Regions from separate parts of the Homo sapiens genome. Here regions 2, 3 and 4 are each linked to region 1. The links are contacts of gene promoters, found by promoter capture Hi-C in blood cells and fetal thymus (Javierre and others, 2016). All regions are on one chromosome and are shown on one strand. The core of a region is centred on a gene start or on the middle of the fragment in contact, and the rest is flanking DNA. Distances in the headings are between cores, read along the strand shown. Region 1 holds the start of RESP18 (regulated endocrine specific protein 18). Region 2 overlaps NHEJ1 (non-homologous end joining factor 1). Region 3 overlaps NHEJ1 (non-homologous end joining factor 1). Region 4 overlaps NHEJ1 (non-homologous end joining factor 1).

Evidence for each region. Contacts are between HindIII fragments. The CHiCAGO score rates a contact against its expected background, and 5 or more counts as called.
Region 2: a fragment that was not itself captured here is called in contact with the fragment with the promoter of RESP18 in region 1 in 9 of 17 cell types (erythroblasts, total B cells, naive B cells and 6 more); the score reaches 7.4 in erythroblasts.
Region 3: a fragment that was not itself captured here is called in contact with the fragment with the promoter of RESP18 in region 1 in 4 of 17 cell types (erythroblasts, total B cells, neutrophils and 1 more); the score reaches 7.4 in erythroblasts.
Region 4: a contact is called between a fragment that was not itself captured here and the fragment with the promoter of RESP18 in region 1, in 7 of 17 cell types (activated CD4 T cells, naive CD4 T cells, total B cells and 4 more). The highest score is 6.6, in activated CD4 T cells.

What each region holds. Positions count from the first base shown.
Region 1 is chr2:219,331,478-219,334,005 of GRCh38, forward strand. It overlaps RESP18 (regulated endocrine specific protein 18), which reads right to left and starts at 1,267. Exons shown (of 6, transcript NM_001441699.1): 1 at 1,047-1,267. The coding sequence starts at 1,152. The HindIII fragment of the contact is 5,862 bases long and covers 1-2,141 here.
Region 2 is chr2:219,090,406-219,092,933 of GRCh38, forward strand. All of the region lies in intron 5 of NHEJ1 (non-homologous end joining factor 1), which reads right to left. Among named protein-coding and RNA genes, the nearest start is that of IHH, 31 kb to the left of the region's middle. The HindIII fragment of the contact is 183 bases long and covers 1,181-1,363 here.
Region 3 is chr2:219,109,209-219,111,736 of GRCh38, forward strand. The region is part of intron 5 of NHEJ1 (non-homologous end joining factor 1); the gene reads right to left. Among named protein-coding and RNA genes, the nearest start is that of IHH, 50 kb to the left of the region's middle. The HindIII fragment of the contact is 3,206 bases long and covers 1-2,528 here.
Region 4 is chr2:219,139,437-219,141,964 of GRCh38, forward strand. The region is part of intron 5 of NHEJ1 (non-homologous end joining factor 1); the gene reads right to left. Among named protein-coding and RNA genes, the nearest start is that of NHEJ1, 20 kb to the right of the region's middle. The HindIII fragment of the contact is 2,399 bases long and covers 65-2,463 here.

The DNA of each region.
Region 1 (2,528 bases), core at 17-2,516:
TTCTGGACAGGTCTTTAGAAAAGGGAATTCTCCTACCCAGTCAAATGGATGTCTAATAATTTCCTGGGGGTAAGCGTGACAAAGTTTTAAGTAGAGACATTTGGGGATGAGAAAGCCTCCTTAAGGAAGTAGTGGAACCTCCAACACCCTGAGGAGAAGGGAAAGAGCTTCGGGAAGGGGAGCTGATTCTCTGAGGCAGCGTTCCCAGGACTGGTGGGAAGGAGTGGTGACCCGCTCGGGCTCGGCGTGGACCCGGAGCGCGCCTGGCGCTGTCCGTGGTGCTGAGAGGTGGGGAGGCCAGCGTGGCGGCGGCGCTGGGCGGAATGTGGGCGAGACATCTCCGCAAGGCTTGGCGGTCCTTCCCCACGGCCCTCATCCTCTCATTGCCACCAGGCCTCCTCCCACAGCTGTTCCTGAATCCGCTGCATTGGCCTCTAAAACCAAAAATCAGGGAGAGGGGGCGACAGACTAGGAGTTTGCGCTCTCTTCCCCATGCGCTCTGCGCAGGAGTTCTCGAGTGTGCGCAGTCTGGCACGTGAGTCAGCGCGGGGTCTACGCGGATTGGTGCGGGGGAAGGGGAGAAGGATGGTCCCATTCCCCCTCCATCCTGCTTTCCCTCAGCGGTCCCCTTATTGGAAACCGGATCACAGCACGAGGAAGCCCTGGCTCGTCTCCTGGCCCAGCCTTCTCCCTGGAGCCAAGACCCCGATACCCGCAGCCCTGGTCAACTCTTTTTCTGGCCTTTCTTGCTTCTCCTGTGGCCACATAGGCCAGTTTTACCTCTCTCTGTTCATTTGTCTTTCTGACCTCTTCCCAAATCCCCAATTTTCACCTGAACCCACTTCTCGTGAGTCCAGACCCCATATGCCCAGCCTATCTGAAGCCTATGCCTCTTTCCGCTAGACGCTGTCTACCTTTTTCTCTTCTCACGTCCTTAAGCACATTCTTTTACTTCCAAGTTTCCTAGCCTTGAGGCCCCCTGCAGACCCCCACTTCTCAGGATCGCTTTCTTGGCCCTGCCCGCACCCCCCAGGGTTCCTCCTGACCGTGGGCACTAGTGTCGCTGCAGCCCCCCGGGCAGCTGTTCAGCAGCAGGAAGCAGACAAGCAGCTGGAGCCCCTCGGAGCTCCCAGGCCACAGTGGGTGCTGTATCCTCCCAGGCTCGGCGCGCTCACTCCCCGGCCAAGTCTCAGTGAAGGTAGCGGCCACGGCCGAGGGGCTGAGCGGGGCTGCAGCTTCCCACCAGCCCGCGACTCCGAATCTGTTTAACCCTCCTCGGCAGTTCAGCCAATCGTGAGCGGGCCCTGCCCCTGCGGTCGCCTCCCCAGCTCCTTCCCCTACCGCCTCCCCACCCTCATCTCTTGGAATTCCTGACCCGGCTCCTTTCGGGCATTAGCTGGGTCCCAAGAACCACCGCCTGTACTCCCAGTCCTAAGGCTGCAGAAACGGATGGCACGTAAGATACGGGTGCAAGTTGTACCTACTCAGGTTTGTTGTGAGAATCAAATATGAACAGCGATGAAACAGTAGGCACTCAAGGAATTTAGTTTATTTTATTATCCTTGACACTCTTTACTCTGGCCCACTTAAAACCCTTTAGAAATCATATAGGTTCGATCTGCTATATATATATATATAATATTATATATTATATATTATATATGGCACATCCATCCACTTTACTCCACATCCACTGCCATCGCCTTGGTCCAAACCACTGCACACTGTACTTTTTTTTTTTTTTTTTTTTGAGACAGTCTTGCAATTTCAGATCACCACAACCTCCGCTCGACCTCTACTCAACCTCAGGCTCCAGAGTAGCTGGGACTACAGGTGCACACTACCATGCCCAGCCAATTTTATTTATTTATTTATTTATTTTTGTAGAGACAGGGTTTTGCCATGTTTCCCAGGCTGATCTCAAACTCCTAGGCTCAAGCAATCCTCCCACCTTGGCCCCCCAAAGTGTTGGCATTACTGGCATGAGCCACCATGCCAGGCCTTGGACACTGTACTCTTTTAAATTGAGTTGTTGTAGTAACTAACTAGCTAACTGACCTCTTGCTTTCACTCTTGTGTACTTACAAGCTAGTTTGTGAGCTTTCTAACTCTTAGACTGGCATTTAAATTTTTTTTCATTAAGCTTAAAACATTTATTAAACTGGGCATGGTGGCTCATGCTTGTAATCTCAGCACTTTGGGAGGTCGAGATAGTGGATTACTTAAACCTAAGGGTTTGTATAGTGAACATTTGGGGTTGATACATTACAAAGGATCTGAATTATATTATTATCTTTAAAGGGTAATAGTTTGAGTTTGTTCTGGCAGGCAATTAAATTTTTGGTAAAAAGTCTTGATCCTGTGGCAGTCTGGTTAGGGAAGGAGTACTTCATCCTATTCTCAATTCTAGCCTGTATCTCTTAGTCCTGGGATATGGTGCTTATGGCTAAGGTGTGGTCCTTTTTGGATTTCAACATAACCCAAAGTCATTTACCAAAACTCTCTATTTTACGGGTCCTGAACTCCAA
Region 2 (2,528 bases), core at 22-2,521, 240 kb before region 1:
TAGTGCCTGGCACATAGGAAGGGCTCAATAAATATTAACTGTTATTATTAATTCAATCATTAAACAAAATTGCCAAGGATATGCTATAGCATGCTGTGTCCTAAGGATAAGACAGGGTTCACTGCCCTCAAGGAGCTCATAGTCTAGATGAAGAGTGAGACACATAAACAAATAATTGTTCCTCACCTCTAGCCACACACGGGAGCCTTTGATTCCCAGTCAACAGCACTAGGTCTGAGGCCTTACTAAACAAAGCTGGATATGTAAGGAACAGCATGGGGTGGGGACAGCAGTTAACAGACTAACCGTGAATCAACAGTAGGCCCTTCTTTTCCCACAAATAGCCTACAAAAATCTAGATAGGCATAAAGACTTTCTCCTCTGAATTACTACTAAGGGGCCATCTGTGTCCCCCAACCTCTTCAAGTGACTGGTTTCTTCTCATCTTTCAAGTCTCAGTTTAAATGTCACTTCTTCTGGCCTCCTGACCATATCATCTGAAGTGCTTTTACAGCACTCTATTCATTTTCCTCAAGTGATTATACTTTTTAGTTATTCATTTACTCATTTCCTGTCTTCCCCATTAGGCTGTGAGCCCCTAGAGTTCAGGGACCATTCATCTAGCAAATATAAGTATCTACTATGTGCCAGGCACTGAAGTATGTGCTGGGAATTCAGTTTGGGGGTAGAGACATGGCCACTGCCCTCATAGAGCTTACAGTCTGTATCTGTGGAAAAAGTTTTGGGATGCAGGTTTATCCCAATTCCAGCTGAGGACTCTCTTAGGACTAGCCCAGTTAGATAGGAGCCTTTGGCTGCCAATCTCTCACTGAGTTCAAAAAGCCAGAAGCTGAAACTTGGGCGACTTCTCAGTTCTTTTTTCCGCAGTCCTAGATTCCTGTGGAGTTTAAGCTAGGGTAAACAGCATAACCTCAGAGCCATTTCTGCAAGTTCTTTCCTTATAAAGCTATTTCTATCAGCATTCTAAGGGCAAGCATGGTCGGTATCGGGCAAGAAACACATTGGCTGGGGTGGAGGGTGGGGTAGGGCATGGGGATAGGGAGGCAAGAGTCTCCCTAAGTCCTGTAGAGATGAAATGACTGAACTGGAAGTGCTGAGCCCTCAGCGCCTTTCAAATTCTATGCCCTGAATTTCTCAGATGGCTGCTTCCCACAGTCTAAGCTTCTCTACCATTGAGTCTGACTTCGTCCTAAAGGCTACTTCCTGCTAAGCTAGCCTGAGGTCTAGCAATGTTGAATTCGACTCTAGGAAATATATTCTGCTGCAAACTCTCTGAGGAAACGCCAAGGGGACACTGTTTTCCAGGACTGGGAGATAACAAAATTCAAAGGATTGTTGAAAAAGCTTCTTTAAATTTGTTATTAAATGAACAAGGGTATGTGTATATATGAAGTATGTGTGTATATATGAAGTATGTGTGTATATAAAATTAATGAATAAATCTTTGCTTAATAGCAGGAGATAATGTCCTGAGAGCAGAATCCGGGACAAAGTTTCAAGCCACATAAGCAAACAGACCTATTCATTCAAGAACTTTTTACTTGACACCCTCTCTGAGCCAGATTATTCTAGGTACAAAGAAATAAATGACTGATTGTGGGTTTAGCAAAATATGTTCAGTTCTATGATACAGGTCTATGTACAGTCTGCTTTGAGAGAAGAGCAGACCAGCCTGGGCAACATAGTAAGACTCTGTCTCTATAAAAAATGAAAACTTAGCCAGGTGTAGTGAGTGGCACATGCCTATGGTCCCAGCTACTCAGAGGCTAAGAAGGGAGGATTGCTTGAGCCTGGGAGTTCAAGGCTGCAGTGAGCTGTGATTGTGTCACTGCACTCCAGCCTGAGTGACAGAGTGAGACACTGCCTCAAAAAAAAAAAAAAATTATAGGATTACAAAGGAAACCAATTAACTGAAATGTTATTCAAATATTTTAAAACTAATCTGTAATATTATAACATATGAGCTTCTTTATTAACACATTAAATCATGAGATCTAGCAATGAGTCTAATAACCATAATTTCAAGTAGTAATCAGCAAAAGCTGTATTTCAAGATATCTGCAGCAGTATAAAATGATACGAAAGTATCTGTGATTTCTACTGGTGACAGATACTTCTAATATACAGTGTCTTTTGCTTACATTTACAATTGAAGGAAATGCTAAATTTCAGTTACAGGTTAATGAAATAAAGATGCAACTTTCCCTCTCATTCCATTCACGAAACCCTGAACTCACGAACCCAGGGTAAAAACCCCTGCTGTAAAGATGTAAAGGCTCTCATTGGGTAACAGTGGATGCATAATCAGAAAGACCACGTAGAGCCAGTTCAGAGTTAGCAGTAAGGGGAGCCAAAGCCACATGCCAGTCAATGGTCTGCAGGAGTAGAAACAAATTGGCTGTGGGGGGCAGAGATAAGAGATCTTGAGATCCCAGAGAAAGAAGCTGCCTGTCCAGTTTCTGTGAGGCATGGGTAGCCATCTGAAATTAGGTACCAAGAGACCTCCC
Region 3 (2,528 bases), core at 14-2,513, 220 kb before region 1:
GGTTCATTTGGGCAACTGGATAATATGCCAGGGATTCTGGTTATTGGAGCCAGAACCAGAATGCTGCTGTGCTATCTCATCATCACTCACAAATACCAATTCCCAGCCCCAAATGGTCCCAAATCTTTCCTCCCAAGACCACAAAGGATAAAAAAAAAGTTTCCAAATTAAAAAACTAAAACTGGCAACAAAGGTGCCCCATGGCAGTAACCTTTAAAACTGGCCATTAAAGTTTATAAGTCAGACGGGCACCAACGTGAAGGATCAAGAAGAGAAAAACAGCCCCCTCCCTTGGGGACCCAGAGCCACAGCCTTCCCCCTAAAGCCACAGAGCTGATGTCACAAGAAGCACTTGCTGCATCAAGGGCTCTCTGTGTCCCAACTACAACCATTCACAATGCAGGCAGACTCTGCGTGCTGGAGGCGGGCTGGTGTCTGGCAGAGAATAAAGGAAAGGGGAGGGGCAAGGAGGCGTGGGTTGGGAGTATATATGAGGTAGGCAAAGGTGAGAAAGGAGAGAAAAACATCAAATCTCCTCCTAGCCCTCAGGACTGCCTGCAATTCACAGGCCAGGAGGAAACAGGCCCTGTCAGACTGCCTAAGATAGTGGTTCTCTTTTTCCACCTAACACATAAAAGGCATACCACAGATTTTCATCAGTAACGACAGTATATTATGCAATAATCCTTAACTATCTTGGGGTGGATAGTTTTTTGATATGTGCATATCAAAAATTTTTTGGTAAGGGTATGAATAGTTTGAAAAGGCTTCCAAATAATTCTAACCATCTCCCCGATTGGGTATGTACCCCCTATGAAGAATCATGAGCTTAAAGAGCCTACTTTTCCTTCCCTCCCTTCCTTCCTTCCATGTATTCAACAAATACATTTTGAGAGCTTACATGTGCCAAGCATTGTTCTATTGACACTGGAGAGACAGCAATGAACACACAGACAAAAATCCCTGCCCTCATTGAGAATCCATGTCTTCACATGGGGTAAAATCAACGTAATTAAAAAGCAGAATCTAAGGGGTGCCCACTGCACCCTGTAATCCCAGCACTTTGGGATGCCAAGGCAAGAGGACTGCTTGAGCCCAGGAGTTCAAAACCAGCCTGTGTAACATGGAAAAATCCCGTCTCTACAAAAAATATATATATATAAATTAGCCAGGTGTGGTAGGGTGCACCTGTAGTCCCAACTACTCGGGAGGCTAAGGTGAGAGGATCGCTTGAACCCCAGGAGGTTGAGGCTGCAGTGAGCTGTGTTTGCACCATTGCACTCCAGTCTGGGCAACAGAGTGAGATGCTGCCAAAAAAAAAAAAAAGTAGAAATGTGTGGTATATTGGGTTATGGTAAGTGCTATGGAGAAAAGTACAGCAGAGACAGAGACAGAAAGTGCTGGTGGGGTGGGGGTGGAGGTGGGGCTGAAATTTTAGATGGGGTGGCCGGGAAGTCCTCAATTAGAAGGTATCACTTGAAAAAAGACCTGAAGGAAGTGAAGGAATGAATCATGCAGATATCTGGGAAGGACCATTCTTAGCAGAGGGAACGGCAAGTGAGAAGGTCCTGAGGTGGGGCACCGGTCTCAGATGTTCAAGAAACAGGAAGGAGGCGGCCACCGTGGATGGAGTCCATATGCTACTGTTCATCACAGCGCTCCTCCTCCATTTCAGATCCTTTGGCTCTGAGGAGTCTGGGCTGACTGCATGTTGGACTGAACTGTCCAAGCCAGGAACATGCTCGCAAGCAGAAAGAACTTAAATAGCTTGGTGAAAAGGGACATGGGTAGATAAGATGAGCTTAGTTTTAAAGTATTTCTCTTTACTGAAACAGCTCAAAGTTCCTTTAAATAAAACATCACCCATCCTCACAAAATCCTTGTAAGGAACAAAGGTCATATTCCTTAACTAAGGACCAGAGGGGGGAAAATCATTTTAAAGATGATTTTAGAACTGGAATAGAATTTACTCGTGATACCCAGACCAATGCTCTATTATTCATAAAAGCATAGACTACTAAAAGGTGGAAGCCAGATTTATCTCACCCATTCTCCTCATTTACTCAAAAGGCAGCTGACAAAATTAGAACCCAGGTTTCTTGGATAAGGGGTTAACACTCCTTAAAAAGCAAAGTAGGGGGATGGTACAGCTTTTAAAAGAGGGGACCAGCTCTCAAATCCTGCATTCTAGAAACTCTCCTACAAGGGAAAGATATGGTGATGACATTAGCATTACAGAATACTAATAAACAGTCTTCTCTGTCCCCTGACCCCTAGAAAAAATCTAGTTATCCCACACGCTTGGCCCACTCCCCTTATCTAGATCCCTTTAGCCCCAAATGTCTTTCATGAGACAGTGTGGCCAAGCCAGTGGGCTGCAGGTTCTGAAGACCAGAATTAAGTCTACAGTGTGAATACAGACACACACACACACACACACACACACACACACACAGAGAGATACATACAGTCAGTGGGAAAGAAGGGGAAAGGAAAGCACACACAACACAACACACCAGGGCAGCTGC
Region 4 (2,528 bases), core at 14-2,513, 190 kb before region 1:
GAGTAGCCCTATGGACAGGCCACATAGCAAGAAATGGCACCTCCTGCCAACAGCCACATGAGAAAGCTTGGATATGAATTATCCGGATGTTACAATGACTGCGTTACCAGCTGACATATTGACTGCAACATCATGAGAGACACTGAGCCAGAATCACACCCACTAAGCTGCTCCCAGATTCCTGACCCTCAGAAACCATGCAAGATAATAAATGTGTTTTTGGTTTTTTGGGGTTTTTTGTTTTTGTTTTTGTTTTCTGAGACAGAGTCTCGCTCTTTCGCCCAGACTGGAGTGCAGTGGCACGATCTCGGCTCACTGCAAGCTCTGAGACCTCCCAGGTTCACGCCATTCTCCCGCCTCAGCCTCCCAAGTAGCTAGGACTACAGGCGCCTGCCACCACACCCGGCTAATTTTTTGTATTTTTATTAGAGACAGGGTTTCACCGTGTTAGCCAGGATGGTCTTGATTTCCTGACCTCATGATCCATCTGCCTTGGCCTCCCAAAGTGCTGCGATTACAGGCGTAAGCCACCGCACCCAGCCTGTTATTTTAAGCCATTAAATTTTGGGACAATTTGTTACACAGCAATGGATAACTAATACAGACTTTAAGGAAGTGAGGAAGTTGGCCACACAAATATCTGAAGAAAGAACATTCCAGGCAGAGGGAACAGCCAATGTAAAGGCCTAAAGGCAGTGTTAGAGTGTTAGAAAAACACTTAAGAGTGTTAGAAAAACAGCAAGAGGCCAGTGTGGCTGCAGTGGAGTGAATGAGGGAGGAAGTTGTAGGAGATGAGGTCAGAAAGGTAAGAGAGTTCTATAAGATCATATAGGGTTTTATAGGCCATGGTAAAGTCTTTGGATTTTACTCTATAAATGAAGTGTTAAGCCAGTGAAGGGCTTTGAGCAGAAGAATATCACGATGTGCCTTGCAACTTAATAAGATAGCTTTGTTGATAATAGGCCAGGAGGGGGTAGGAGTAGCTGCAGGATACAAATAAGGAGGCTTTTGCCATAATGCAGGTAGGAGATGATGGTGGCTCCAGTATGGTAGCAGCAGAGGTGAGATTACGGGCATAGTTTTAAGGTAAAGCCAACAGGATTTCCTGATGGACTTTGGCTGTAGGAAGTGAGAGGACAGCAGTCAGGATGACTCCAAGGTTTTTTCACCCAACTAAAAGTGAAAGAATGAACCTTCCATCAACTTAGATGGGAGGGGGTTGTTGGAAAAGTAAATCTGGGCATACGACTGGAAGTTCAATTTTGGACGTGTTGAATTTAAGATATTTTTTAAACTTCTTCATGAAAATGTTAAACAAGCAGTCTGGAGTTTCAGGGTAAGACCTACAGTGAAGAATAAATGTGAGATTCATCCACAAGGTGGTATTTAAAGATGTTATAGTGGAATGCCAGAGGAGCAGGCTGAAGATGTCAAAAGGATCAAATCATAAATGATCACGTGTGGCGTGCAAGGAGTTTGAACTTTATCCTGTAGGAAACCGGGAGCCACTAAAGGACTCTGAGCAAAAAGTGTCATAATCAAGTTTCAGTTTCAAAGACATCACTCTGACAAAACTACAAATTCAACTGCAGGGGAATAAGAACTGACCAGGAGACAAGTTAGGAGGCTGTTGCATGGTCAAGCCAAAAAAGGGACAGAAAGGCCAGGAACAGTGGCTCACACCTGTAATCCCAAAACTTTGGGAGGCCAAGGCAGGTGGATCACCTGAGGTCAGGAGTTCAAGACCAGCCTGGCCAACATGGTGAAACTCCATCTCTACAAAAAATACAAAAATTAGCTGGGCGTGGTGGCTCAAGCCTGTAGTCCCAGCTACTCAGGAGGCTGGGGCATGAGAATCTCTTGAACCCAGGAGGCAGAGGTTACAGTGAGCCGAGATTGTGCCACTGCACTCTAGCCTGGGCAACAGAGTGAGACTTGGTCTCAAAAAAAAAAAGCAGGGGGGGAGTGGGGGAAAAGGGAGAGAAAAATGGCTAATTTCAGACAACGGGAGGTAGAATAGAGAAGATAGGCAGATTCAAAAGACGGTCAATAAATTAGGCTTTGAAAGTAAGGACAAAGAGGAAAGTGAGTGACTCCCAAATTTCTAGCTTAGAAAACTGAATGGATGATGGTATAATTCCCCAAGATAAGGAATATAAGAGAAATAGTCTGGGGGAGTAGATAATTCATTTTGGACATGTTTAGGATGTGCTTTATGTGGGACATCCAGGTGGAAATGCCAAACATGCAGAAAGAAATATGGGCCTAAAACACAGTGGAGATATAAAATTGGTATTCAGCGATGTACCAACAATAGTTGACACTGGGGTCTAGATGAGATGACCCAGAGGAAGGAAAGTGAAGTCTCAGAGGATCAGGGACCTGATCCTGGGAAACACTAACCTTTAAGAGGCAGGCAGAAGACGGAGAGCCAGCCAAAGAAACCAATTAGAAGTGTGAACAAGCTTAACAAGATGGCAATTTTCAAGTTAAAGCATTGCCCATCTTCCCCAGGCGATATAAGCTCT